Regions from separate parts of the Homo sapiens genome. Here region 2 is linked to region 1. Evidence: promoter capture Hi-C in human tissues and cell types (Jung and others, 2019). All regions are on one chromosome and are shown on one strand. The core of a region is centred on a gene start or on the middle of the fragment in contact, and the rest is flanking DNA. Distances in the headings are between cores, read along the strand shown.

Region 1 (2,834 bases), core at 270-2,769:
ACGAATGTGATGCTGAGTGTACAACAGAGAAGGTTCAGACATAGGGAAGTTCTGAGGACAAGGATTTTTTTCTTTTATTCAATGTCATATATCTACCACCTAGACAGTGCCTGGTATCAATAAATATTCCTTGAATAAATGAAAAGGGTAACTGATTTGTATTAAACCCATTTTGAACTTAGTAAATAGCAGTTAAAACATCTACAGTCAAATGAAGTACTGTAGCAACCATAATTTCAGCAATTAAGCAGTGAAAGATCTTCCAATCCTTTCCTCCACAAAGATAGAAGTTAATTTTGCTGCATCCCTGGACACCCCGTTGCCAACGACCCAGCATTCCGTTGGTAAGTGAGGCTGGAGGTTGGAGTGGGAGAAATTTCGTGGAAGCTAAGTTCGCAAAGCAGGTACGTTTTTTTTTTTTTTTTAAACGGTTATTTGGGATGAGGAGTACAACGGAACCTAATGTTCCCTCATGCCACCTACAGCACTGCTACTGTTCCCATATCCTTCAACTGGGCATGAAGGCAGCTTCCCACTCACTCTGACAGTGGTGCACCCTGTACCCCCACCCCTCTCTTCAATACCCCAGGGCTAAACGGCCCGAAGCTCCTCTCTACCGGCTGGTGCGCATTCTGGGCCAGGGCGAGCCAAAAGGCAGAAGGGCCTTCGTGCTGCAGTGTCTGGTGAAGACTCAGGCTTAGCCTGGAAGAAGTTTCCAGGCCAACGTGAAGTTTTCCTGTCTTGGGTACATGCGAGCCCCACGCGTCTGCGAGTTTGGGTTAGTGTGTCAACAGGGTCAGTCCCCGTATCTACTTTGCGAAAGCTTCGAGGCGAGCGTGAAGTCAAGGGCTGCGGTGGATGGGGGTAAAAGGCCTCCTCGTCCCACTGCCTGCACCGTCTTGGGGTAACCCCTAACCCCCAGCCGGCGTTTCCCTTTAATGCGCGTGCCCGGCAAGGTCCTCGCGTCCCCTCCCCTCAAGCCACCCCGTCAGCCTCGGTTTCCCCCACTTCTCCCCGTCCTTGTCGTTCCTTCCCCGTGGGACGCCCCTCGCTCACCCCCGTCAGAGCCCAGTCTGCGCGCGGGACCCAGCTGTCACTTTACTTTTCCTCGCCGCCTCCCCACCCCCTCTCCCGACCGGCGGGGCAGCCCGCCCGGGCGCGCTCCCGCCCCCGCCCCCTCGCGGCCGCGCGCCGGAGGAGGAGGGGCGGGGGGAGGAGGGAGGCGCGCGGCGCCGCATGGCCGACGTGGGGCTCGCGCTCTCGCGGTCTCTCCCGGGCGGGCGCGCAGGCACGCGCACTCGCGGGTGCGCGCGCGGACGGCCGGGCGGCGGCGGCTCCCGGAGGTGGTGGCTTCACTTTCCAGGACTCAGGGGCAGCCACAGCGACAGCCGCGGGCAGCAGCCTCAGGAGCCGGAGCTGGAACGGCCGGGGGCGGCGGCAGCGGCGGCGCTGAGGGTGAGTCCGGGCGGGCGCGAGCGCGGCGGGGACAGGCGTGGTCGGGTGCGTGGTGCGTGGGTCCGGCTTTCGGTGACTAGACGGTCCGCAGGGGACATCCCGTCCCTGGGGCCTCCCCAGTCTCCCTCCCCCTCGCGCCTGGGCAGCTCTCTCCCAGGGCTTCGGCTCGAGCCTGCGACCTGCACGGACACCCCCCCCTCAGGTATTCGCTCGGGCCGCGCCGGTGCCTCCCCTCCTCGGGCGTCCTCCCTCTCGCTGACGTCCTCCTCACTCCCCCGACCTCCCCTCCGCGTCGCAGGTCTCTGCTTACACCGCTCGTGCCCTAGTTCCCTCCTTCCTCGCTCCCCGTGCCCGGTTCCCTACGCCCCCTCCCGCGAGCCTCCTGCCCCCGTTTCTCGCCCTTTCTACCCCTCCCCCTTCTTCCCATCCCCCCCTTCTGCCTCTTCTCTCCCTGTCCTCCTTCTACCCCCTTCCGTTCTCAGTTCCCCATCCTTCTCAACCCTCCCAGCGCTTTCCTTCTCCTAGCCGCATCCTGGAACTAAGTCTTTTCAAAAGTACAGGATAAATGTCACGGTGGAAAGTGCCCGGCTTGATCTTTTGCTATTTTCCCTAATTGCATAATTGCTGCACATGGTGTGTCTCCTGGCGAGTGCCGGGTTTGGCTCCTTCGCCGCCGCACCCCGGTGGCCCGCCCGGAGAAGACCTTGTGGGGTATATTTGTGTGTGTCCTGGTGAGGGGTGTGTGTTGTATTGGTCTTTTGTGATGCCTGGCGCTTGTCACAGTTTGGAACCGAAGCCCATTTTTCTCTGGTCTCTTCTCTGCAGCCCCCACTGGCCTGGTTTGAAACTGGATTCCCTCTGTCCTCTCCCCCTTCCCGCCCACCCCACTTCTCCCCCTCTTTTCTCCGATCTCTCTCATAATGTTTTGATCTTTTTGCCCTTTACCATTTCTAATGAAGATAAAGCGTGGCTTCTTGTGGCTTTTTTCCCCCACGACCAACCAGAAATGTCCAATCCATCTTCCCTTAAGGAAATTAAGGCTGCTTTAGAAAGACATCATCCTGTGCTCGGTGGCTGTTAGACCCATTTGCATGTTTTCAAGATTCATCGTTTTGTATTGTGTATTCTTGAGAGTCTACTAAAATATTTTTATTTAAAAGTACGAAAGGAAGTGCTAGGGTTTACCCTCAAAGTATCTCGCGGTTCTAAAGGATTTTACGCTCTTCTTAGTTTTTAATCCCTGATTTCTTTAAAAAGTATGTTTCTAGATATGTGATAATTCAGTCTGGACTTTGTGAATCTAAATATTTGCCTTTACTACGGCAATTTGGATGCTCCTTGGCTCTTTGGAATTCTGTATGTGGGCTGACGCTGAAATA
Region 2 (2,967 bases), core at 40-2,539, 1.3 Mb after region 1:
TTTTGTTTTTTTTAGGAGCCAAATCCTTGACATAGGCTATGGGTCTTATTTCTCATCATTTTTAGTCTTACCATATGAGCTCCCCATTTCCTTCCCACCTCTTCTGAATTCACTTCTAGGAATCCTCAGGCCTCCCCTTAGCACTTCCTCAGGAAAGACTTCCTCCTGCAGAAAATCTCTCACTATCTTCTTATAGCACTGCACATTTCTGTATGTGTCATAGCCTGTCTCTCCCAGTAAACTGTAAGCCCCAAAGAGGCAGTCATTATGGATGTTTTACATACTTTTATATCCTTAGTGTCTAGTATGGTGTCTGATACATATTAGATGCTTAATAAACATTTGCTGAATGAATAAATGGTATTGCAAATGCCATTGTTGGGATTTGGAAAATCGGTGGGCAGTGACTGGGTTTTAAAAGACAGAAAGAGAGGAGGAAAGAGAGAAAGGGAGGAGAGAGAGAGAGAGTGAGAACTCTTATGTTTACCTTATAAAATAGCCATTTAGCTCATTAGCTTAGTCAAATTCTAAATAATCTTAACTCCTAAGATTGGATGGACTAAAGTTTGAAGCCTACTGTCTTCCCATCACTGTCCTGAGCCTGACATCTAATAATTAGATCAGCAGTCATCAAAGTGATTACAAGACCATTTCTGGGGGTCCATGAGATCCTGCCTTTCCAAGCTGGATATGGTCATATTTTCTTCACATACTTCAACTCAAACAACATACTACAGCAGATTGAATGCAGAAGCAGTTACGGGACTCCAGCTGTACTATTAAACTAAACGCTATGGTTTGAATGCTCACTCCAAAAATCATGTTGAAATTTAATTGGATAAATTAATTGGGACATGGGGCCTTTAAGTAGTAGATTAATACCCTTATTGCAGGAGTTGGATATTTATCTCAGGAGTGGGCTCCTGGTAAAAGGATGAAGTTTGGTTTCCATTTTTCTCTCTGCCTCACGTGCTTCCTTGTCCTTCGGTCATGTTACGATGTAGCAAGAAGGCCCTACAGATACAGCCCCTTGATCCTGGACTTCCCAGCCTCTAGAACTATGAGCGAAATAAATTTATTTTCTTTTAAAGTTACCCAGTCTGTGATGTTCTATTAGCAAGAAATGACATTTAAACCTTTTGCAAAAATGTAAAATAATGCCTTTTGTTCACTAAATAGTTTCTTATTTTGGAAAATATAGTTGTTTTTTAAAAAACATGTTCTTTACATTAACACATAAGGATTTATCATTGCTACTTTTAAATGATTAGTAAAAATATTTTAAACATTACTCATTTTCCATTCTAATACTATTGCTGCTATTTATAATATCCTATTTATTGATGCTATTTATATATCCTATTTATAATCCTCAGAATCAAAGCTCTTTGGGGTCTTCAATACTTTTTGAGAGTATGAAAGGGTCTTGAGACCGAAGCATTTGTGAACTGCTGCATTAAAAAAAATCATTTCTTTGGTTTAAGACTTAGTCTCCTTAGTCTCTCAAACTACAAGTAAGTAGGAATGCAGCAGTAGAAAGAACCTAGATTTTTGGCATTAGTCAATGTGGCTTGGAAAGCTGGTGTAGCCTCAATAACTGGTTGTGTGAACTTGGGAAAGTCAGGTAACTTCTGAGAGTCTCATTTTTCTCTTAGGATAAAAACACCTCAGTAGGTTATTGTGAAAATAAAAGAAAAACATGAGAAAGCACTCAGCATAGTGCTGGCACATAATAGGTATGTGCTTGGCACACAGAAGTATTAAATTTTATTGTCAACTATACATTGGTGTGAGTTTGTTAATCTTTTTTCAAACGGCTTTTAAGGATCTGGTGATGCAGTGGTACGTGGTAAAAGTTTAGTAACTAGCTCTCTGGAAATAAAGATTCCTGTTTTTTAGAATTTGCTGATTCTCATGCTGTAAATATTTGCACCTTGGCTGATTTTAATGTCCATTTGGAGGAGATGGGCTCAAATCACTTGTGAACAGGTATGAGACAGTTTCAGCATAAAATGTTCTGGGCCCAAGAGTGGAATCTAGAAAAAGGAGACACATAAGGTAGAATAAGAGTCTCAGGACGTGATGGTGAAATTTCGGCTAATTCAGTATTTTGCCTCAAGCCTTTCCTTTAACGCTTAGAGTTCCCAGTTTTCTTTTTGGTTGGATTGAATCACTGGCATCACCAAGAGGGTGCCATGAAGACTTTCGTATCCAAGTTATCTGCCACCGAGTCTCATATTACCACCAGAAGAGTAACTATTTGGGGAAGCATATTGTCCAGATAACCTAGTTAAAATAAGGGATCATTGACAGATTAGTCTGGCTTAGATGTCAGAGGTGTAATGCCCTAAAATGATGCTGCAGAACAGTGGATCTCAAAGAGTGCACCCCAGACAAGCAGCAAGGTATCACCTGGTTGTTGGAAATGAAAATCATCAGATCCCACTCAGCCCTATTAAATTGTAAATTCCGGGGGTGGGGCCCAGCAATCTGAGTTTTAACAAACCCTTCCTACAGAACCCCTGGTGTAGGAGAAGTTCACGAACCCAGATAGGTGGGAAGACTGCAGTGATTGGAGCAGGGAGTGATCTGGGCATCCTGGGTATCCCAAGGGAACCTGGGGCAAAGACAAGCTGAGACTGGGCACAGCGGGTGCTGTTGGTTCCCGCTGGAGCCCCTTCACTGATCTGGTACTTCCCTCGCCTTCTGTGGTGTGTTGGTTGCTAAGGACTCGAAGATGTTCCCTTCTCTGGAGAACTGCCAGGGCTGCATGACAATAGCTACAAAAGCCTCCCCCTTTGCTTCAAAGTGAAACTAACTCTGTGATGTAGTTCATGTTCCTAGTGGGACAGACTAAAGCCAGTCTCCAGTAGGGATGACAGTCTTGCTCACCTTCTCGCCTGCCCAATTCTGCTCCCCTTACTCTTCTCCTAAAAGCACTCCTGACGAAAATCGCCTCAGCATGAA

Evidence for each region. The method cuts DNA at HindIII sites, captures the fragments that hold promoters and counts their contacts. A contact is called where the count stands out against the background at its distance.
Region 2: a fragment that was not itself captured here is called in contact with the fragment with the promoter of UBE2E2 in region 1 in 1 of the 25 tissues and cell types used here (dorsolateral prefrontal cortex).

Annotation. Positions count from the first base shown.
Region 1 is chr3:23,201,808-23,204,641 of GRCh38, forward strand. It overlaps UBE2E2 (ubiquitin conjugating enzyme E2 E2), which reads left to right and starts at 1,520. Exons shown (of 6, transcript NM_152653.4): 1 at 1,520-1,657. It overlaps UBE2E2-DT (UBE2E2 divergent transcript), which reads right to left and starts at 1,186. Exons shown (of 2, transcript NR_136176.1): 1 at 1,057-1,186. RefSeq lists enhancers at 193-1,168, 581-640 and a silencer at 991-1,680. The HindIII fragment of the contact is 11,420 bases long and covers 1-2,834 here.
Region 2 is chr3:24,516,682-24,519,648 of GRCh38, forward strand. The region is part of intron 1 of LOC107986011 (a long non-coding RNA gene); the gene reads right to left. Among named protein-coding and RNA genes, the nearest start is that of THRB, 23 kb to the left of the region's middle. RefSeq lists an enhancer at 2,494-2,967. The HindIII fragment of the contact is 4,974 bases long and covers 1-2,967 here.